Linked DNA regions of Homo sapiens: regions 1, 2 and 3 are each linked to region 4. The links are contacts of gene promoters, found by promoter capture Hi-C in blood cells and fetal thymus (Javierre and others, 2016). All regions are on one chromosome and are shown on one strand. Each heading gives the region's core, a stretch centred on a gene start or on the middle of the fragment in contact. The rest is flanking DNA. Distances are from core to core; before and after follow the strand shown. Region 1 overlaps RPS6KB1 (ribosomal protein S6 kinase B1). Region 2 overlaps TUBD1 (tubulin delta 1). Region 3 overlaps RPS6KB1 (ribosomal protein S6 kinase B1). Region 4 holds the start of PTRH2 (peptidyl-tRNA hydrolase 2).

What was found. The method cuts DNA at HindIII sites, captures the fragments that hold promoters and counts their contacts. A CHiCAGO score of 5 or more calls a contact.
Region 1: a contact is called between a fragment that was not itself captured here and the fragment with the promoter of PTRH2 in region 4, in 1 of 17 cell types (activated CD4 T cells). The highest score is 6.1, in activated CD4 T cells.
Region 2: a fragment that was not itself captured here is called in contact with the fragment with the promoter of PTRH2 in region 4 in 8 of 17 cell types (activated CD4 T cells, monocytes, M2 macrophages and 5 more); the score reaches 13.5 in activated CD4 T cells.
Region 3: a contact is called between a fragment that was not itself captured here and the fragment with the promoter of PTRH2 in region 4, in 1 of 17 cell types (activated CD4 T cells). The highest score is 9.1, in activated CD4 T cells.

What each region holds. Positions count from the first base shown.
Region 1 is chr17:59,940,955-59,947,092 of GRCh38, forward strand. RPS6KB1 (ribosomal protein S6 kinase B1) reads left to right here. Exons shown (of 15, transcript NM_003161.4): 14 at 4,452-4,564; 15 at 5,597-6,138. The coding sequence ends at 5,834. Among named protein-coding and RNA genes, the nearest start is that of RNFT1, 21 kb to the right of the region's middle. The HindIII fragment of the contact is 2,408 bases long and covers 2,502-4,909 here.
Region 2 is chr17:59,871,054-59,876,850 of GRCh38, forward strand. TUBD1 (tubulin delta 1) reads right to left here. Exons shown (of 9, transcript NM_016261.4): 6 at 3,486-3,650. Among named protein-coding and RNA genes, the nearest start is that of TUBD1, 19 kb to the right of the region's middle. The HindIII fragment of the contact is 6,927 bases long and covers 1-5,797 here.
Region 3 is chr17:59,915,708-59,921,327 of GRCh38, forward strand. The region is part of intron 4 of RPS6KB1 (ribosomal protein S6 kinase B1); the gene reads left to right. Among named protein-coding and RNA genes, the nearest start is that of RPS6KB1, 25 kb to the left of the region's middle. The HindIII fragment of the contact is 1,413 bases long and covers 2,053-3,465 here.
Region 4 is chr17:59,704,506-59,710,306 of GRCh38, forward strand. It overlaps PTRH2 (peptidyl-tRNA hydrolase 2), which reads right to left and starts at 2,925. Exons shown (of 2, transcript NM_016077.5): 1 at 2,866-2,925. It overlaps VMP1 (vacuole membrane protein 1), which reads left to right and starts at 3,149. Exons shown (of 12, transcript NM_030938.5): 1 at 3,149-3,243. RefSeq lists enhancers at 2,739-3,394, 3,195-3,254. The HindIII fragment of the contact is 5,892 bases long and covers 1-4,151 here.

The sequences.
Region 1 (6,138 bases), core at 2,456-4,955, 240 kb after region 4:
AATTTCCATGTAGTCATGGGAAATTTTAGTGTGAGGATGGGCTCTTCAAAGAAAATTCAGTTTGCTTGCTTTGCAGTTCATGTAGGTAACCTGGCCCACTTTTTTTTTTTTTTTTAAATAAGCCATGCCTTTATAACTTATTGATGCCTACAAAATTTATTTTCATAATCCAACATTTTATTTTAGCAATTAGAGTGGGAATGTACAAATCTTTGGAAAGTATGATTCCCTTTTTTTTTTAGGCCACAGACTTAAAATGATGTTTGGCTTAGCATCTCAACCAAAAATTAGTCATAGCAGTCGGGGAGAAAAACCTCACTGACTACATGTATTTTATTCCTGAAACAGCTATAGATTTTTGGTACTTTTTTTTTTTTTTTTTTTGAGACAGGGTCTCACCTTGTAGCCTAGGCTGGGTGTAGTGTAGTGGTGTGATCACAGTTCACTGCAGCCTTGACCTCCCAGGCTCAAGTGATCCACCCATTTCAGCCTTGTGAGTACCTGTACCACAGGTGTGTGCCACATGCAGCTAATTTTTTATTTTTTTGTAGAGACAGAGTCTCACTATTTTACTCCTGGACTCAAGCTATCTTCCTGCCTTGGCTTCCCAAAGTGCCAAAATTATAGGCATGAGCCATCGTTCCTGGCCCTATTTTTGGTACTCTTAACATAAGTAGGGGATTTTTTTTTTTTTTTTTGAGACGGAGTCTTGCTCTGTCACCAGGTTGGAGTGCAGTGGCGCGATCTCAGCTCACTGCAACTTCTGCCTCCTGGGTTCGAGTGATTCTCCTGCCTCAGCCTCCCGAGTAGCTGGGACTATAGGCGTGCGCCACCACGCCCAGTTAATTTTTGTATTTTTAGTAGAGACAGGGTTTCACCATGTTGGCCAGGATGGTCTCGATTTCTTTTTTTTTTTTTTTTTGAGAAGGAGTCTCGCTCTGTCGCCCAGGTTGGAGTGCAGTGGCGCAATCTCAGCTCACTGCAAGCTCCACCTCCCGGGTTCACACCATCCTCCTGCCTCAGCCTCCTGAGTAGCTGGGACTACAGGTGCCCGCCACCACGCCAGGCTAATTTTTTGTATTTGTAGTAGAGACGGGGTTTCATCGTGTTAGCCAGGATAGTTTTGATCTCCTGACCTCATGATCCGCCCGCCTTGGCCTCCCAAAGTGCTGGGATTACAGGCGTAAGCCACCACGCCCAGTCGATGGTCTCGATTTCTTGACCTCGTGATCCACCCGCCTTGGCCTCCCAAAGTGTTGGGAATACAGGCATGAGCCACCGTGCCAGGCCAAGTAGGGGATTTTTTTAACATTAATTGTGAATATTTGACATCAAAACATATTGGTTCATATGTAATAGTGAATTCTCATTGTAGAAATGTCTGTATAGATTTATAGCTTGTCTCCTCAGAAAAGTAAAGGTTTTTGATGTTGGCCAACAGAAATGATGGATTTATATCAGAAGACCATGAATGCATACTATTTTGCTCAAATAGCACATATGCTTGTTGATTTTATTACTGTACTTAATATGTCACATGAACATCTATCTCATTTTGTATCCTTTTTTTTTCTTTTGTCATTTGTTTTTGGACTACTCTAGGGAGAATAGAATATGGGGAAAATAATTGTTTGGGAGTGTTTTTTCCCTGTTTTTGAGTTCACTGGATTTGTCACTAACTTAATTCTTAAGCTTTTCTTCCCCACATTGCTCACTATGTAATACAAGTAGTGTTGTATCTTATGGGATGGGAAATAAGCTCTAAAGTTAGCATGGAGTTGGGGCATGGTGGCTTATGGCTATAACCTTGAGGTCAGGAGTTCAAGACCAGCCTGGCTAACATGGTGAAACCCCATCTCTACTAAAAGTACAAAAATTAGCCAGGTGTGGTGGCATGCACCTGTGGTACCAACTACTTGGGAGGCTGAGGCAGGAGAATCACTTGAACCCGGGAGGCAGAGGTTGCAGGAGCCAAGATTGTGCCACTGCACTCCAGCCTGAGCGATAGAGTGAGTGAGACTCCGTATCAAAAAAAAAAAAATTAATTAAAAAAATTAAGTTAGTATGGGATGCAAAAGTTGTGTATAGTACAGTATGGTTTTGAGTAAACAACACTGAATAGTAATAATCCTATAAATTAATATAGAGCACATAGGCAAAATATAGTCTTACAGTATTACATAAGAGATAAAAGATGAGTGAGTGCATGCATGTTTTTAAATTCAAGTTTGATGTGTGCATGATCAAAGTTACGGCATCTCTGTTAGTAAAATCTTAGGTTCAGTTAGGGAAGTGGGCATGAATCACTTTAATTTTGGCATTTTTTTTCTCTCATGTACTACAGATGTGGAATTTATACCTTTGATTTAACATAGAGACCTTTTCCTCAATTGGACATTGCAGAATTTCAACTTATGTGACAGTTTTCCCCCCACAAAATAGAAGCATTTTATTTAGCTGCCAAGAAATCCAAAGTTGTGGTGGTAAAAGTGAGATATTGAAGCTTTCGTTGCCAGTTAAAGTATTGTTGAGCTTTTCACAATTACTTAAATTGGCTAATGAATAGAGCAACTCATTTGTTAGGTTGTAGCCAGAATTCTCTACATAAAGTGGATCTCTTTAAACATTAATAAAAAAAAATAGGTCAGGTGCAGTGGCTCACGCCTGTAATCCCAGCACTTTGGGAGTCTGAGGTGGGCGGATCACAAGGTCAGGAGTTCCAGACCAGCCTGGCTAATATGGTGAAAACCCATCTCTACTAAAAATACAAAAATTAGCCAGGCATGATGGCTGTAGTCCCAGCTACTCGGGAGGCTGAGGCAGGAGAATCGCTTGAACCCGGGAGGAGGAGGTTGTAATGAGCTGAGATCACGCCCCTCACTGCACTCCAGCCTGGGCGACAGAGCTAGAATCCATCTCAAAAAAAAAAAAAAAATTATATATATATATATACACATATATATATATACACACATACATACACACACACATATAGTGACATCCCACTTATCTGGATAATGTGGTTCTAGCAACCTCATTTCAACAAATATTTTAATTCCTGTTGTAAGACCCCATCACAGAATTAGAGGAAATTCAAAGATGATTAAGGCACAGCCTGTACCTCTTGGTAGTTACAGCTTTAGTCCACCAGAACGTTTGTAAAATTATTCTCTGAAGTTCACATATAACTGTCACAAATCATATGCACTTCAGAATTGCACCTCACTCTTTGGGACTTCACTCAGAGCTTTGCTGAGTCTTATTTATTGTAACACATAATGCTTACTCATAGATTTTGATAAATAGAAGATAGGTGAAGATGGTTAAAAGAATGAACATTGACAGCTAGAGAAATGACAGCTGGTAGCCTAATAGTAAGATCCAAGAGAGAACTAAAATGAACAAAACTGCATTTTTGCCTATTACAACTGAAGGTTTTTGAAATGTTGATACTTATTCATCAAGAAAACACCAAATTCTAGCTGGGCAGAGATCACACGTGCCTATATAGTCACAGCTACTTGAGGGGCTGAGGTGGGAGAATAGCTTGGGTCCAGGAGTTTGAGGCTGCAGTGAGCTATGTTATCACCACTGCACTCCAGCCTGGGCAATATAGGGATACCCCATCTCTTAAAACAAAACAAAAAACGAATTCTGTCCAATCATTGGCGTAAAACCAGAAAGATCACAAGATCTGACTTTGATGCCAAGTCAGAAAATTGTTTTTACTTTGGTCTGATTATAAGAAACTGTTTTAGGGTGATAAACTTAATTGCTTATATGCCTGTGGCTAGAAACACTAGAAGTTTCTTTACATTTCTCCTAGTATTTAACATCTTTTTTTTTTTTTTTTTTAATTTTTGAGATGGAGTCTTACTCTGTTGCCCAGGCTAGAATGCAGTGGTGCGATCTCTGCTCACTGCAACCTCCACCTACCAGGTTCAAGTGATCCTCCTGCCTCAGCCTCCCGAGTAGCTGGGATTACAGGCGTGCACCACCATGCATGGTGGTGTATTTTTGTATTTTTAGTAGAGACGGTGTTTCACCACATTGGCCAGGCTGGTCTTTAACTCCTGACCTCAGGTGGTCTGCCCGCCTTGGCCTCCCAAAGTGCTGGGATGACAGGCGTGAGCCCCCGTGCCTGGGCGTATTTAACATCTTCATATGGAGCCTGAATTTTCCTGTTTTTTTTTCTATTCCTGTCAGTAGGGTAGAATTTTGTTTGCTAGCATATCAGGCTCAATGGAATTCTGCTTTCTTGAAGTGTGTGCCTCACGAAATGGCTGGAAAGAAGTTAACGGGTCTAAAAATGAGGTTGAGGACGTGGGAGAGTGTACACATTGGTGGTTTTAGGTGTGCATCATTGTGTAGGTATGTCAGACTGAACAACCCCATTCTCTTGAGATACATGACAAAATGCCATTCTGTAGTCCACTGTTACTGTCTTTCAGGGTTTTACATATGTGGCTCCATCTGTACTTGAAAGTGTGAAAGAAAAGTTTTCCTTTGAACCAAAAATCCGATCACCTCGAAGATTTATTGGCAGCCCACGAACACCTGTCAGGTATTTCACACTCTTATTTTCACTTTTTTTTGTTTTTAAACAACCTACAAGAGTGTTTGCTTAAGAAGTTTATGCCAAGTTATATAAATGAAAGACTGTCATACTCTCTTTGGTTGACATAAGCACAGCATCTATATCTTACATTGCAAAGGACTAGTCTGACTAATCTATGATGTTATATGGTTTACCTTCCCTCCCAAAAGTAAGCAGCCATACTGGCAAATGTCCTCTTTATCCATTCACTCAGCATTTATTGTGCACCAAGAGCACCAGCACTACATACTGCATGTTATGTGTGTGTATCTATATAGTACTATAATACAGGAATTGTCCCTGTCCTGATGAAGCTTACAATTTAGTGGGAAAGTCACAATAGACAAAGGATATACAAAAATATAATTACAAGTAGTGCAAAGTGCTATAATTTAAAAGGGGAAAAAAAGAATGTACTGGTAGAGAGCAGAGGAAAAACAAGGGGGCTTCTACTCACAGTGATCAGAGAAAGGCCTCCCTGGTGTAGTAACATCTAGCAGTGAACGGAAAGAGCCAGCCCTACAAAAATAGGAGGTATAAGAATGTTGCAGGCAGAAGAACAGCAAATGCAAAAACCCTGAGGGAGGAGAAAAGTTGCCCTTTTCCTGGAAGTGAAAGGGAAATCAGTGTTCCTGGAGTGTGTGGTGAGTGAGGAGAAGGGCAGAGGTTTGGAAAAGTATTTTATTTTAAATGCAATAGAAAGCTGTTTTGAGCAGGGGAGAGTAAAATGATATATATAATACGCATTTAAATGTATATATATCTCATTGAGGGTTTTGGGGGTCAGGTGTAGAGGTAAAGAGACCAGTTAGGAAATTCTAGCAGTTAATCTAGGTGGGGGAGAGATGGTTCAATTTTTGCCTTTGTGCTAATCCACGTGAAAATAAAATTAAATGAAAATAAATGTCATGTTACCCCACTCCCTTTAAACGTAAAGGAAATATGTCTTGTTGAGATGACCCTTAAGCAAATGAATGATAGCTCTTCCTTGTCTTAAAGCCCAGTCAAATTTTCTCCTGGGGATTTCTGGGGAAGAGGTGCTTCGGCCAGCACAGCAAATCCTCAGACACCTGTGGAATACCCAATGGAAACAAGTGGCATAGAGCAGATGGATGTGACAATGAGTGGGGAAGCATCGGCACCACTTCCAATACGACAGCCGAACTCTGGGCCATACAAAAAACAAGCTTTTCCCATGATCTCCAAACGGCCAGAGCACCTGCGTATGAATCTATGACAGAGCAATGCTTTTAATGAATTTAAGGCAAAAAAGGTGGAGAGGGAGATGTGTGAGCATCCTGCAAGGTGAAACGACTCAAAATGACAGTTTCAGAGAGTCAATGTCATTACATAGAACACTTCAGACACAGGAAAAATAAACGTGGATTTTAAAAAATCAATCAATGGTGCAAAAAAAAACTTAAAGCAAAATAGTATTGCTGAACTCTTAGGCACATCAATTAATTGATTCCTCGCGACATCTTCTCAACCTTATCAAGGATTTTCATGTTGATGACTCGAAACTGACAGTATTAAGGGTA
Region 2 (5,797 bases), core at 2,170-4,669, 170 kb after region 4:
GAGACTTCTCAACAGCAACGCTGCAAGTGAGAAGATGATAGAGCAATGGCTTCGAAATACTCAGTAAAAAGAAAATGATTCCCAACCTAGAATCCTATCCCTGGCCAAACTATCATTCAAATGCAATGGCAGAACAGAATTATGATATTTATTTATTTTTGAGACAGGGTCTCGCTCTGTCGCCGAGGCTGGAGTGCAGTGACACGATCTCAGCTCACTGCAACTTCCCTCTGCCTCCCAAGTTCAAGCAATTCTCCTGCCTTAGCCTCCTGAGTAGCTGGGACTACAGGCGCCCGCCACCATGCCTGGCTAATTTTTTGTATTTTTAGTAGAGACGGGGTTTCACCATGTTAGCAAGGATGGTCTCGATCTCTGACCTCATGTTTCACCTGCCTTGGCCTCCCAAAGTGCTGGGATTACAGGTGTGAGCCACTGCACCCGGCCAGAATGAAGATATTTGTAGCCTCAAACATTTTAATTTCCTTGTACTCTCTTAGGGAGCTCCTGAAAGGTATGGTCCATCAATATGAGGGAATAAATCAAGAAAGCAGATTTGAAATCTAGGAGGTACAGATATAAATCAGGATGAGGCAAGCAGAGATGCCAGGGCTGGCTGCTTATCAAGCCTAGAGAGCAGTCAGTCCAGAATGGAATGGGAAGATAAATGCCTTCCAGAAGATGTCTCTAGGCAGATAATGGAAGTAATCACTTACCTGATGGGTTTAAACATATTAAGAAAGAATTCTTTTTTTTTATTTTTGAGACAGGGTTTTGCTCTGTTGCCCAGGCTGGAGTGCAGTGGCATGATCACAGCTCATTTTAAACTCAAATCCCTTGGTTCAAGGGATTCTCCTGCCTCACCCTCCCAAGTAGCTAGGACTACAGGTGCATACCACTATGCCCAGCATTTTTTTTTTTGAGACAGAGTCTCGCTCTGTTGCCCAGGCTGGAGAGCAGGGGTGTGATCTCAGCTCGCTGCAACCTCTGCCTCCTGAGTTCAAGCCACTCTCCTGCCTCAGCCTCTTGGGTAGCTGGGATTACAAGTGTGTGCCATCACGCCTCGCTAATTTTTTGTATTTTTAGTAGAGATGGGGTTTCTACTACATCCGTGTTAGCCAGGATGGTCTCGATCTTCTGAACTTGTCCGCCTCGGCCTCCCAAAGTGCTGGCTCACAGGCGTGAGCCACCCTGCCGGGCCAGCTAATTTTTTTAAATTATTTTTTTAGAGATGGGGTCTTGCTTTGTTGCTCAAGCTAGTTTTGAACTTCTGGCCTCAAGCGATCCTCCTGCCTTAGCCTCCCAAAGTGCTGAGATTACAGGTGTGAGCCATCACATCTGAGAAGGGATTCATTTTTTTACAGAAAAGTTTCAGGATAAGTTGGTAATAGGTACAGAAAATATCAACTGAATAAATATAATGATTAACAACTCCAGGAGGGAAAAATAAACTGTACACACAAAAAAATATAATCTATGTACACAAGGCTCTACTCTGAATAATATTTAGATAGCAAAAGTAGTACAAACATTGAAAACTGATCTAACTCCCAAGTATGTTAGAAGAATGAAGGTAATTGTGTTTGTATGTGTGAGTATGTGTGTGAGTGTGCACATGTGTCAGTATATATATGAAAATGGGAATGTGTGTGTGTGTGTGTGTGTGTGTGTGTGTGTGTCTGTGTGTGTAGAGGGGGTGTAAGATGATTCAATTCTCAATTTTTTTTTTTTTTGAGATGGAGTTTCACTGTTATCACCCAGGCTGGAATGCAATGGCACTATCATAGCTCACTGTAACCTCTGCCTCCCGGGTTCAAGCAATTCTCCTGCCTCAGCTTCCCAGGAATTACAGGCGACTGCCACCACGCCCGGCTAATTTTTTTGTATTTTTTAGTAAAGAAGGGGTTTCGCCATGTTGCCCAGGCTGGTCTCGAACTCCTGACCTCAGGTGATCCACCCACCTCAACCTCCCAAAGTGCTGGGATTACAGGCGTGAGCTACTGCGCCCAGGCCAATTCTCAATTTTCACACTAGGAATGCAAGAGATAACAATATAAGTAAGACATTTATAACTATGGAGGCAAATTGTAGATGAAATAGCTAGACGTTGAAAGTAGTTTCATCTGTGTAATGGGGAGGTGTAGGATTGCTGTTTTTCCTTGTCATAAATTCATACCAGACATTACTTAAGTTGTTTTTTGTTGTTGTTTTTTTTTTGAGAAAGGGTCTCACTCTGTCACCCAGGCTGAAGTGCAGTTGTGTGATCACAGCTCACTGCAGCCTTGACCTCCTGGGCTCAGGTGATCCTCCCACCTCAGCCTCCTAAGTTGCTGGGAATACAGGCCCATGTCACCATGTCCAGATAATTTTTTATATTTCTTGTAGAGATGGGGTTTTGCCATGTTGCCCAGACTGGTCTCGAACTCCTGGGCTCAAGCGCTTCTCCTGCCTTGGCCTCCCAAAGTGCTAGGATTATAGGTATGAGCCACCATACCTGGCCCATTACTTGACCTTTTAAAAAACTGAGATATAGGCCGGGCGCAGTGGCTCATACCTGTAATCCCAGCACTTTGGGAGGTCGAGGTGGGTGGATCACAAGGTCAGGAGTTCGAGACCAGCCTGGCCAATATGGTGAAACCTCATCTCTACTAAAAATACAAAAAAATTAGCCAGGCATGGTAGCACACGCCTGTAATCCCAGCTCCTTGGGAGGCTGAGGCAGAAGAACTGCTTGAATCCGGGAGGCAGAGGTTGCAGTGAGCCGAGATCGCGCCACTGCACTCCAGCCTGGGTGACAGAGCGAGATTCCATCTCAAAAAAATAAAATAAATAAAAAATAAAATACTGAGATATAATTGGCCGGGCACGGTGGCTCACTCTTGTAATCCCAGCACTTTGGGAGGCCAAGACGGGTGGATCACGAGGTCAGGAGATTGAGACCATCCTGGCTAACACGGTGAAACCCCGTCTCTACTAAAAATACAAAAAATTAGCCGGGCGTGGTGGCAGGCGCCTGTAGTCCCAGCTACTCGGCAGGCTGAGGCAGGAGAATGGTGTGAACCCGGGAGGCGGAGGTTGCAGTGAGCTGAGATCACGCCACTGCACTCCAGCCTGGGCGACAGAGCAAGACTCAGTCTCAAAAAAAAAAAAAAAAAAAAATTGAGATATAATTTAAATACAGTGCAATGTATGGATTTAAGTATATATTTAAATGAGTTTTGGCTACTTGATTTTTAAAACTATGTTCACTTATTTGATTAAAATAAAAATTTAAAAAAAATCTGGCACTCATTTGAAATGTCTTTTGGTAATGAAACTGTGAAGTGATTAAGAAACCCTCCTAAGATGTCCTGGTGAGTTTCTGCCGGAGTCTCTCTAGCCAGAAAAAGGGACCATTATTTAAACTGGTCCAAGCCAGTTTATATTGAGACTCCAGGACAGACATTTTTTCCAGCTTGTGGGCTGCATATTTTTGGACTACTCTTTACCTTCTTCCATCTTTGCATTAGAAATGAGCATCTGTCTCAAATGCTTGAGGAGGCCAGCCCAAGTAAATGTGGTGTATGCCAATGAATTCTCAGACATGTGAGGAATGTTACGAACACTCAGCATCTTGAATTCAGGATGGGGAACTAAATGCTCCATTAAGTCTCCTGTAAAGAAAAAAAAATCTGAACTAATTTTTTTTTATTCTACATTGTTGCCAATAGTCTATATATAACCATGATTTGAAGGTTTTCTGGGCCAAATGTTTTTTCTCTTCTCAGACCAGAATTATTTAATCTTTAATATAAATACAATTTCAGAGACAATGTCTATTACACACCACCTCTTTGCTTCATTTTAGCACTGACTTGAGCATGAGTGAGAAAATACACTTTGCCAAAAAGCAAACTACAATTTAGAAGCTGAATAACTGGAAATGTGAATGAAATATTTAGGTAAACTCCAGGCAAACAAAGTAAACATGAGAACTGATATGCTTTTCTTGTCATTCTATGTTCACTAAATATTGTTATATTCTTTTTTTTTTTTTTTTTTTTTGGGATGGAGTCTTGTTCTGTCGCCAGGCTGGAGGAGTGCAGTGGCGTGATCTCGGCTCACTGCAACCTCTGCCTCCCACGATCAAGCGATTCCCGTCTCAGCCTCCTGAGTAGCTGAGACTACAGGCACGTACCACCAAGCCCAGCTAACTTTTTGTACTTTAGTAGAGATGAGGTTTCACCATGGTGGCCAGGATGGTCTCGATCCCCTGATCTCATGATCTGCCTGCCTTGGCCTCCCAAAGTACTGGGATTACAGGTGTGAGCCACCGCACCCACCCTACTAAATACTCTTTTAGAAATGTTACTAGATTTTTACATACCGTATCTGGTTAGGTGATAATCAAACCCTGTTAACATGAAAGTTAATATAAGCCAGGCACGGTGGCTCACGCCTGTAATCCCAGCACTTTCGGAGGCCTAGGTGGGCAGATCATGAGGTCAGGAGTTTAAGACCAGCCTGGCCAACATGGTCTTGGTCTTAATAGAAACACTGTTTCTATTAAAAATATGAAAATTAGCCAGGCGTTGTGGCAGGCACCTGTAATCCCAGCTACTTGGGAGGCTGAGGCGGGAGAATCGCTTGAACCCGGCAGACAGAGGTTGCAGTGCATCGCACTCCAGCCTGGGCGACAAAGCAAGACTCTGTCTCAAAAAAAAAAAAAAGTTAACATGAAACTCTATTTGGAAAGAAGACAAGATTAGATATTCCTTAAGATAGGAATGTGCCTATCTTTAGAAACTTGTATTTACAATGAAATAGAATTAAGGAGAAAGGGTACTTTCCTTTACATTTACAGCTGTCTCATATGTTTATAGAAAATACCTTGAGGATAGGGAAAAATATATTACCATAATATGAAACAAACTTTATAACACTGAGTACAAACTCATAATGTACATCCTAAAGAAAAGAACAAATTTTGACACAAACATCTATAAGATGCTACACAGGCGGGCTTGTGCTAATGGAGTGTCCTCTAAATGTAGAATTCTTTTCTGTAAAATACCTAGAGTTGAATTCTATTGCATAGCACAAGTAAATATAGAATAGTCAGAAAATAATTCATGAGCACTAAGGCATGAATTCTTTTTTTTTTCTTTTTAGACAGTGTTTTGTTCTGTTGTCCAAACTGGTGTGCAGTGGCGCAATCAAAGCTCTGCAACCTCGAACTCCCAGGCTTAAGCAATAGCCCCACTTCAGCTTCCCTAGTAGCTGAGATTATAGGTGCACACCACCATGCCTAACTGTTTGTTTTTTTTTTGTTTTTTTTTTTTTGAGATGGAGTTTCGCTCTTATTGCTCAGGCTGGAGTGCATTGCATGACCTCAGCTCACTGCAACCTCTGCCTCCCAGGTTCAAGCAATTCTCCTGCCTCTGCCTCCCAAGTAGCTGGGATTACAGGCATGTGCCACCATGCCTGGCTAATTTTGTATTTTTTTTAGTAGAGACAGTGTTTCGCCATGTTACTTAGGCTAGTCTCGAACTCCCAACCTCAGGTGATCTGTCCGTCTTGGCCTCCCAAAGTGCTGGGATTACAGGCATGAGCCACCACACCCGGCCACTTTTTAAATTCTTAGTAGAGATGAGGTCTTGCTATGCTGCTCAGGCTGGCTTCGAACTCCTGGCCTCAAGCGATCTTCCCACCCTGGCCTCCTAAAGCACTGGGATTACAGAAGTGAGCCATGGTGCCCGGCCAATGCATGAATCACTAATTGTTGCAATCTGTTCTCCCTTCCAGCTTTCTTGTTCAGCTA
Region 3 (5,620 bases), core at 1,509-4,008, 210 kb after region 4:
CATCTGCCTCGGCCTCCCAAACTGCTGGGATTACAGGCACGAGCCACTGCGCCTGGCCTACTGCTATCTTTTTTTTTTTTTTTTTTTTTTTTATTGTGACAGAGTTTTGCTCTTGTTGCCCAGGCTGGAGTGCAGTGGAGTGATCTCGGCTCACCACAACCTCCGCCTCCCAGGTTCAAGTGATTCTCCTGCCTCAGCCTCCCTAGTAGCTGGGATTACAGGCATGTGCCACCACGCCCGGCTAATTTTGTATTTTTAGTAGAGATGGGGTTTCTCCATGTTGGTTAGGCTGGTCTCGAACTCAGGTGATCTGCCCGCCTTGGCCTCCCAAAGTGCTGGGATTACAGGCATGAGCCACCATGCCCAGCCAACTGCTATCTTTTTAATTCAGCAGTTTTCAATTTTTTTTTTTAGACGGAGCCTCACTCTGTTGCCCAGGCTGGAGTGCAGTGGCGTGATCTCAGCTCACTGCAACCTCCACCTCCCAGGTTAAAGCGATTCCTCTGCTTCAGCTTCCTGAGTGTCTGGGATTACAGGCGCCCACCACCACACCCGGCTAATTTTTGTATTTTTAGTAGAGATGCGGTTTCGCCATATTGGCATGCTGGTGTCGAACTCCTGACCTCGGGGGATCGGCCCGCCTTGACCTCCCAAAGTGTTGGGATTACAGGCGTGAGCCACCGAGCCTGGCAGTATTAACTTTCTTTTATGCGAGTTAAGGATTTGTTTCTTGTTTACTTCACCCTCCTTTATCCTCATCCTCTCATTTTGTTTTGCTTTCTTTGAATCTACTATTGTCCTCTGATGTCTTCCAACAACTTTGTAAAACACCTTTCAGTCTAATGTTCTTTGATCAGGCTTATAAGATAATCTATCAGTTCCATTTATTTCCCAGAGGCATATCTTAGGAACTTTCTATCCACCTGTTCCCATCTGGAGTGGTAGCTCTTTAGTCACAACTGTTATGACTGGACTCTTTCTTCACCACAACCCTGGAATCCTCTTGGCTCCTTCAGTGTTGGATCTTTTGTTTCCTGGATCCCATATCTTCATTTTTTCCCTTTTTCTTAGTTTATGTCCTTGTTTTGGTGACACTATACTAGTGGCTCCCTCAGACAAGGTATATAAAGATACATTTATAATAAAAATATATCCATATTGCATATTTGAGAATTTCTTTACATTTTTATTTACTTGATTGTTTATGTTATTGGAGTTGAAAATTATTTTCACTTAGAATTTTGCTCAGTTTTCTTCTATTCTTGAGAGTTTCTGTTGAAGTGCTTTGGCATTCTGATTCCCAGTCGTTTACACATGGCCTATTTTTTCTGTGGAAATATTTAAGATTTTCTCTTTATTTCTGATCTAAGTTTTTATAGTGATGTGTGTTGCTTTGACTTTGATTATTATTTTTATTTAGTTAGTTTTTGAGATAGGGTCTCGCCCTGTCACCTAGACAGGAGTGCGGTGACACAATTATAGCTCAGTGCAACCTCAAATTCCTGGGCTCAAGCTATCCTCCCACCTCAGTCTCCTGAGTAGCTGGGACCACAGACACGCACCACCAGGCCTGGCTAATAAAAAAAAATGTAGAGATGGGCACTCACCATGTTGCCCAGGCTGGTGTTGAACTCCTGGGCTCAAGTGATCCACCCGCCTCGGCCACCCAAAGTGCTGGGATTGGATTACAGGTATGGCCCACTGCGCCCGGCCTATTTAATTAAATTAATTAATTTATTTATTTTTAAGAGACAGGGTCTCACTCTGTTTCCCAGGCTGGAGTGTGGTGGTGTGATCATACTTCACTGTAACCTGTAACTCCTGGGCTCAAGCGATCCTCCTGCCACAACTTCTGAGTAGCTAGGACTGCAGATGCATGCCACCACGCCCAGTTCATTTTTAAAATGTTTCGTAGAGACAAGGTCTTCCTGTGTTTCCCCGGCTGGCCTGGAACTCCTGGCCTCAAGCAGTTGTTCTGTTTTGGCTCCCAAAGTGTTGGGATTACAGGCATGTGCCACTGTGCCCAGCCTATTTTTATTCTTTTAATCTTAAAGCTTTAGTCTTTCAGTTCTAGGAAATTTTCTTATGTGATTTATTTGGTAATTTCCTTCCCACTGTTTTCTCTTCTTGGAATTGCAATTAGTTGGATGTTGGATCTCCTGGACCGATCATCTAATTTTTCTTATCTTTTCCACGTTTCCATTTCTTTGTCTTGTTTACTTTCTTCTACTCAATTTTTTTTTGAGATGGAGTTTTGCTCTTGTTGCCCAGGCTGGAGTGCAATGGCGCAATCTTGGCTCACCGCAACCTCCGCCTCCTGGGTTCAAGCGATTCCCCTGCCTCAGCCTCCCGAGTAGCTGGGATTACAGGCATGTGCCACCATGCCCGGCTAATTTTGTATTTTTAGAAGAGACAGGGTTCCTCCATGTTGGTCAGGCTGGTTTCGAACTCCTGACTTAGGTGATCCGCCCGCCTTGGCCTCCTGAAGTGCTGGGATTACAGGCGTAAGCCACTGTGCCCAGCCATTTGACTAAATTTTTTTTTAAAGCTGTTGTATTTGTGATTCTCCAGAATTCTTTCTGTTGTTTTTGTTTTATAGCAACCTGTTTAATGAGTATAATATCTTCTCTTACCCCTCTGAGAGTTTTATTTTTTTTTAATGTTTATTATTATTTTTTTGAGACAAGAGTCTCACTCTGTCGTGCAGGTTTGAGTGCAGTGGTGCGATCTTGGCTCACTGCAACCCCTGCCTCCTGCGTTCAAGCGATTCTCCTGCCTCAGCCTCCTGAGTAGCTGGGATTACAGGTGCCCGCTACCACACCTGGCTAATTTTTGTATTTTTAGCAGATATCGGGTTTCATCATGTTGGCCAGACTGGTCTTGAACTCCTGACCTCAGGCAAAACGTCCACCTCGGCATCCCAAAGTGCTGGGATTACAGGTGTGAGCCACCACGCCCAGCCTCTCTGAGAGTTTAATTATAATTATTTGAAATGTTCTTTTGTTTTACGCATGTTCTTTTTTGACTTTCTGTTTTCTTTGACTTTGATTTAGTCAGTTTTAGTCACTTTGTTCCATGTTAGAGGCCTTCTTTAGATGTCTGGTGTCATTCACTGATTATTCTTTTTTTTTTTTTTTTTTTTGAGTTGGAGTCTTGCTCTGTCGTCTAGGCTGGAGTGCAGTGGCACAGTCTCGGCTCACTGCAATTTCCACCTCCTGGGTTCAAGCGATTCTTGTGCCTCAGCCACCCAAGTAGCTGGGATAACAGGCATGTGCCACCCTGCCTGGCTAATTTTTGCATTTTTAGTAGTGACAGGGTTTCGCCATGTTGTCAGCCTGATCTCGAACTCCTGACCTCAAGTGATCTGTCCACCTAGGCCTCAATAACCCATCCACTGCGCCTGGCCTGATTATTCATATTTAAGAGTAGAACTCTGAAAAGCTGATCAGAAGTTCTGTGTGTGTAAGCTTCTCTGCAGGGTAGTCAAGTGGTTAGCTGGCACTTGATCAACAACTTCAAATAATAGTGTCTGTAGGGCTGGGTGTGGTGGCTCACGCCTGTAATCCCAGCACTTTCGGAGGCTGAGGCAGGTTGATCACCTGAGGTCAGGAGTTCAAAACCAGCCTGGCCAGCTGGTTTGGGGGCGCTGAGGCAGGAGAATCGCTTGAGCCTGGGAGGTGGAGGTTGCAGTGAGCCAAGATTGCACCATTGTGCTCTAGCTTGGACAACAAGAGCGAGACTCCATCTCAAATAAATAAATAAGTAAATATTGTCTGTAGATCTTTTTTTTTCTGGGGAGGATCAGTTGGTGCTAAGAAAGTTCTGCCATTCATTTGCCTGGAAAAAGCATTCTGGAGCTGAGTGAGAGAAGATGGAGATCTTACCTCTCAACACGCGGACTTTCACTAAACTCGAGTTTTTACATTAGTACTTTACTCTGTGGATCTAATCTTTCACTTTTTTTTTTTGTCCCGGGGAATTTAACTCTCCTAGGGTTAGTTCTTCGACTTAGTATGGAGATGGGAGCCTTTTTGGTCTGTCTGTTCCTTACACAGACTTGTAGATGATCTCCCTGTTTTTAGCACTCCACCTTCTGCCTTCTACAGTCTTCAGTTCCTTTAATTTTTTCCCTTCCTTCTAATTTTTCCTCTAATGTTTGAACCTTGCTGGGGTTCTATAGATAGATTCAACTTCTTTTGTGTATTCCCCTTTGCAGGCACTTAGGTTTGATCTTACCCCACTCTGCTACATCATGGACCATTGCTTTATCCCCACTCTGTCTTTTCAGGTGTGGGATTCCACATGTCTTCTAGTTTTACTGATGGATTATGTGTGTGTTTGTTTTCTTATTCTTGTTTGGGATTGATTACTGAAAAGATTCCACTGTCTTTTTTTTTTTTCCTGGGTTCAAGTGATTCTTCTGCCTCAACCTCCTGAGTAGCTGGGATTACAGGTGCCCGCCACCACACCCAGCTAATTTTTGTATTTTTAGTAGAGACAGGGCTTTGCCATGTTGGCCAGGCTGGTCTCGAACTCCTGACCGCAGGTGATCCACCCTTCTTGGCCTCCCAAAGTGCTAGGATTACAGGCATGAGTCACTGCGCCCGGCCTCCACTGTCTTAAAACAAAAGTTCCAGTGGAGAACTACTTTAAAGACAATCAAAGTGACTTTTTAAAAAAATTATAAGACTTGTAAAACTTTGGTCCTTCTTGCTGATTTTTATTTAAGCAGTATAAATGACTCCTCAGTTTGAAAGCTGAGGAACAAATACTGTGACCACAATTTTATTGGTAATTGTCTTTAAAAAGCCATCTAGCTATTCTTCACATCAGTTTCTTCTTCAGTGGGTTGACATTGATATCAGCTATTTGACTTTCCTGTTGGAATTGTTTTAGATTAATGATTTTTTAATCTGTAAAACATGTTAGGTATAGAATTGAAGGCAGCATAATAGTGCTTGTCCCAGAAATGTGAAAAGAAGTACTGGTCAAGATTTCTTCTTTTATTTGAAACAGAGTCTCACTACATCACCCAGGCTGGAGTGCAGTGGAGCGTTCTCAGCTCACTGCAACCTTTGCCTCTTGGGTTCCAGTGATTCTAGGGCCTCAGCCTCCCAAATAGCTGGGACTACAGGTGTGTACCACCACGCCTGGCTAATTTTTGTACTTTTGGTAGAGACAGGGTTTCACCATGTTGGCCAGGCTGGTCTCAAACTCCTGACCTCAAGTGACCGCCCACCTCAGCCCCCTAAAGTGCTGGAATTATGGGCGTGAGCCACTGCGCCCAGCCTCTGGTCAAGATTCTTAACTGATTCATTCCTTGTGATGTGTTATTTATGTCGGATAATCAGGCCTGACCATATTAGGCATAATTAGATCTTGGGTGAAGTATGTTTTTGGCACAGGTATCTAGTGAAAAAAAGAGTGCTTGTTTTTTTTCCCCACTCATGGTGGGTGGGGTGGTATATTGGGAAATCCATAGACTTAATTACTGCTAAGTGTCAGGCCTCATTCTGGGGCCCAGGGATCCAGGACCTAAGCTGTTTGCCTCTGCTTTTGCTTGGTTGCCATTGTTTCCCATTCTTGGGGTTCTTTTCTTAATCCTGGCTAGAGGATCTGA
Region 4 (5,801 bases), core at 1,675-4,174:
TTGAAGTTACTGAAGAGATGGAAGAGTATGAGGCCACTTGGACAAATATGTAGAATGAAGAAAGGACTAAAACATAATCCTGAGGAAATGAACATTAGGAATCAAAGGAGACTGACATGGAGTGGCCAGGAGTAGGAGGGTCACATAGGGTAAGCTGTAGTGCACCTAGTTTCAGTGCTCTTCCACTCAAGTGCCTAAATACGGTGACAGGGCTGCACAGACATAGTATTTATGGTTCTAGTGCCTTTACAGCCCCCACCCCCTAAAAGAGACAAAGACAGAGAATTCTTTTTTTTTTCTTAAGACGGCATCTCACTTTGTCACCCAGGCTGGAGTGCAGTGGCGCCATCTCAGCTCACTGCAACCTCTGCCTCCGGGTTCAAGCAATTCTCCCGCCTCAGCCTCCCACGTACATGGGATTACAGGCACCCGCCACCACACCTGGCTAATTTTTGTATTTTTAGTAGAGACGGGGTTTCACCATGTTGGCCAGGCTGGTCTCGAACTCCTGACCTCAAGTGATCTGCCTGCCTCAGCCTCCCAAAGTGCTGGGATACAGGCATGGGCCACCATGCCTGGCCAAGTTTCTATTTGATGCTTACATATCAGCAGGACTTTTCTTTGATAATCTAACAACCAGACTCCAAACTGAACAAATATGCAATGTCAGCAATTAGGATTCTCTGAAATAATTTCTAGGCTGCAAAGTAACCAAATATCCCATACACTACATTCCGGTACTATCTGGAGAAGGAACTGCTCTACATAGAGAAGCTATTATGTGCTGGATAACATACTAAATCCTTTATATCCATTACCTCATTTATTGTTGCTATGAACACATAAAAAGGAAGATATATTAGCCTCATTTTAAAGATGAGAAATATGAGGATCAAACAGAGAAGTTGCCTTTTTCTTTATTTTTTTTTAAAGAGAAGGGGTCTCCCTCTGTCACCCAGGCTAGAGTTCAGTGGCATGATCATAGCTCGCTACAGCCTCAAACTCCTGGGCTTAAGCAATTCTCCTACCTCAGCCTTCCAAGTAGATGGGACTACAGGTGCATGCCACCACACCCTCCTGATTTTTTAAAAATTTTTTATTTTTGTATGGACTTGGTCTTGCTATGTTGCCCAGGCTGGTCTGGAACTCCTGGCCTCAAGGAGTTGCTTGAGGTCGAGGCAGCAGCATCTCGAGTCCAGTTCAAAACCAATCTGGGCAACCCAGTGAGACCTCATCTTTACAAAAAATTTAAATAATTAGCCAGATGTGGTGCCACATGCCCATACTCCCAGCTACTCAGGGGATAAGGTAGGAGGACACCTCAGGCTGGGAGGTGGAAATTGCAGTGAGCCATGATCGTGCCACTGCACCCCAGGCTGGACAACAATGCAAAACCCTGTCTCCAAAAAAAAAAAAAAACCCAATAAGATCAAAAACAGGACAGTGAAAGTTCCAAAAGTTACCAAGTTTATTTATTATGTCCCATATCTCAATGGAGTGTCTAATCATAAAAATGCTAAAATTAACACATATTTTTGTTCTTTAGGATGTTCTAATCTCATATTAATCTGATCAGATTATCATCTAACTCCTCTAAAACAACATGTCTGTCTCTTTTTCTGTACACTTACGACAAGCGTATCAATAAGCCTAGTGCCTAAGACTAAGGTAAAACAAATAACCATTCTTTGTCTCATAAATAATTCTGGGCAATGACAGCAGAACAAAATAAGTACATCCTATAAAATCTTCTTCTTGGTGCCTTCTAATTCCCCTGCCTCAGTAAACCCATTTCAGTAGTGCTCTTGATCCCATTACCTCCTTCTGCACCATGCTCCACCCGTTAATCTTTTTTTAAGAGACAGGGTCTCACTATGTGGCCCCCTATGTGGCCCAGGCTGTTCTCAAACTCCTGGGCTCAAGCAATCCTCCTGTCTCAGCCTCCCAAAGTGTTGGATTACAGGCTGAGCCACCGCGCCGGGTCTGCAGTTTACAACCGAAAAAAACAAACAAACCTTTCCCAAATCTTCTCTGACCCTTAAGCCACTGCCCCACTTTCCCTGTATAACATATTCCCAGAGTCTAGTATGGTGCCTGGGGTATGTCAGTAAGGATTAATACCTCTCTAGTTAATCTCTTTGTGTGAAAAAGGGGGGAAATTTTTTCTTTCTTTTTTTTTTTTTTCTGAGACGAAGTCTCACTCTGTCGCCCAGGCTGGAGAGCAATGGAGCGATATCGGCTCACTGCAACCTCCGCCTCCCGAGTTCAAGTCATTCTCCTGCCTCAGCCTCCCGAGTAGCTGGGATTACAGGCACGCGCCACCACGCCGGCTAATTTTTGTATTTTTAGTATAGATGGGTTTTCGCCATGTTGGCCAGGATGGTCTCGAACTTCTGACCTCAGGTGATCCGCCCACATCAGCCTCCCAAAGTGCTGGGATTACAGGCGTCAGCCACCGCGCCCGGCCCCAAATTTTCGACTATATTCTTAGAAACCAATTCTTTCCACGCAGAGCTCGACAGCTCGAAACGCTGGGGATATTCATAAGTGCCCAGCTGAGGGTATGAGGCCTGCTCGCTATTTTATCAATTTCGGAGAGAGCGCATCGATACTGCCTGCCTGGAGGCTTTGCTGGGAACTAGAAATTCTGAGTCTTCCCCTCCCCAGCAGCCTGTTCCTTTCCTCCAAAGGACGGTTCGCAGAACAGGAACAGAGGGCTCAGCGGCCCCTGGGCGGAAGACAGTTTATAAAGGAGAAAATGAAGAAGGTGGGTAATGCAACGAGGTGAAAAGAAACGTTCCTACTGGCGAGAAAATGAATAATGATATTGGTCTCCTTCGCCCTGTAAGGAGCCAACCAACCTACCTACAGTACCTCCTTTCCTCACTCGCGCCTTCCCTTCTTCTGGGCAGCGAACACGTTTCTATCGCGTGAGCTACCTCTTCCGGGGTTCCTGGGTGACAAGTTCCGGATCAAGAATCACAAAGCGAGCAGTCATTCTTCCTCTTGCCACACCCACAGGGCCCGCACTAAGAGCCTAACTGAAATCCCGCGAGGATCAACCGAGCTCGCCGAAAGGAGGGAGGAACGTATCCCTTCTGGAGGCTGTCTCAGGGGGCAGAGGGACCGGACCGGAAGTGACGTGAGCGGGTTCCGGTTGTCTGGAGCCCAGCGGCGGGTGTGAGAGTCCGTAAGGAGCAGCTTCCAGGATCCTGAGATCCGGAGCAGCCGGGGTCGGAGCGGGTAGGTAAACTAACTCAGGGAATTGGGGACCGAAGCCTGAGGCTGTCCTCAGAGCTTGGCGTCTTCCGGAGCTCTCCCACTTAGGCATTGCGGATCTGGGGCACTGTGATTCCGACTTCCAGCAGTGTTTTAGGACGCTGCTGACTGGATGTCTCACCCTGGATGTCTCACGCTGGCGGTAGCCAGGTTATTTGGGACACCTTCTCATGGTTGGTCACCCGGACATTGAACCCAGACACCGGGCTGTTCGTTCTCCTCTCCGCGTACTTGGAAGCCTTGCTAGGCTTCTTTAGAGAACCTCTTAGTCCCGGGATGTCCAGGACCTTGGAGTAAGTGGAGAAGGTCTTCCCTGCTGATGACTGAGCTATTTCTCAGGATCTGTCAGTTTGGTTTTTGCTCTCCCGAACCTCTGGCGCATGATGCTAGATGTATTCGCTCCTAAACGAAATCCAGGCGTGCAAGTGCCATCTAAAGCTCTGGTGGTACAGGGTAGCCAAGGGAATGGGCCTTCGCTCCGCAGAGCCCTTGGAGAGGAACTTCTCAGATTTTTCACTGCTTTAATGAAAAAGAGTTGTCTGCCTTTCCAAACCCCTGAACCCCGACCTCTATATCTTATTACAGTGGAGGTATTTGCAGTAAAACGTGAAGGTCGACTTAATCTCTAAAATTCCAGAAACCATATGTGGCCCTGTGTCACACTGCTAGATTACTTATGACCTCCAGAAGATTTTACACAATCATCTTTTATTTACCTGCAACTCCATGTAAAAATCTAATAATACACGTAGACTGGCCACTGTTGATGTGTTTTGGCAGCATCGCTCCTTATCCTAATGTTAACGTCTTTCATTTCTACTTTGGGGCTTGTCAGAGATTTTTGTGGACAGATTACATTGATCATTTGAAGAAGCTTGTACAAGTGTTTCTGGTGTTGTCATGATAGAATTTAATATTCCAGTTGCTACTACCTAGTAATTGTATTGTCATTAGCTCTGATTTTAGTTGTGTATTCTTAGCATAGATGATGAAAGGAAGAAACTTACTTACTAGGCATCATTGTATGCATTGTAGCTTATGTTTTTACTGTGGAAGAGGGATGGTGGTACCTAGACAAATGTGACTGATTTGTGTAGGTATGAAGTGACTCTCTCGAGTAGAAATTTTATATTTTACTACTTTGCCTACATTATCTTAAGGCACTGAAGGTTACTTTTTTCCTTTGAGGGATATATCCTACTTGATTACAATTGATTAATACAGTTTAATTTCTATGAGTCACATTCCAGAAGAAAATATACATAGAACCATGATGCCTTTTACCAGTTTACCTATAGCTAGTTAAATCAGTTTGTCAGTTTACATATTTTTCTTATTTTGAGTTTGAAAATTTGTTCACGCTTGGCTTTGAAACAAGGTGACAAAATTTGAGATATGGAATTATGATAGATGTATCATTAGTTTAACATTCGGTAAATTTGCTTCTTGATTATATAACTGCCAAATCTGATCTTATCTTCTTTATGTTCAATTGAAGGACTGATTATCCAGTTTTTCTCACTTTTCCAACTTCTCGCTTTTGGCTTGAATCACCACTTTTTAGGATTTTGGTAACTATTAAACTTTAAATCAGAAGACCTGGATTGAAGTCTGGGCTCCAACACTTGTTAAGTAATGGCTGATAGGTTACCTAACATTCTGAGCTGGTCTAGATTGTGTTGATAAAAATTCTGCTCACTTTCTTTCATACAACTGTCACAAAGATTAAATGAGCTAGTAAACATGAAATTATTAAATATGAAAATATGGTATCACTTTACTCTTAGAACTGGAGATATGTCAGTGTAGAATACTGTTACTTTGCATCATTATCTGAAAATATTATCACATACTTTTCTGAGATGATCTTTGCCCCACCTTTGAAAGTTAGCAAAGAATAGTTTGATACCGTGATCCATTGAATTAGTCACCATGGTTAATAAATAGGTTCCTGGAAAATGAGTATAGTTTTGCATTCGGGAGTTTAAATCTGATCCTTTTTGGTCGTCATGTATTGTCACTTCAGAACTTCCAAGTGCAGAAAAAGCTGAAGTTTTTTGCCTACGTATAGTTAACTAAAGAGTAGAAGTAGTCCTATCTTACTTACATTAAATAAGAAACCTTATTATTGGGCCGGGCGCGGTGGTTCACGCTTGTAATCCCAGCACTTTGGGAGGCCGAGTTGGGCGGATCACGAGGTCAGGCGATCGAGACAATCCTGGCTAATACAGTGAAACCCTGTCTCTACTAAAAATACAAAAAATTAGCCGGGCGTGGTGGCAGGCGCCTGTAATCCCAGCTACTCCGGAGGCTGAGGCAGGAGAATGGCGCGAACCCAGGAGGCGGAGCTTGCAGTGAGCCGAGATTGCGCCACTGCACTCCAGCCTGGGAGACAGAGCCAGACTCCGTCTCAAAAAAAAAAGAAACATTATTATTTCACTGAAACCAATATTTAGAATTAGAAGGAATCTCTGTGAATGTATAAGTAGATTCCCATTTAACAGAGGAGAAAATTAAGGCTC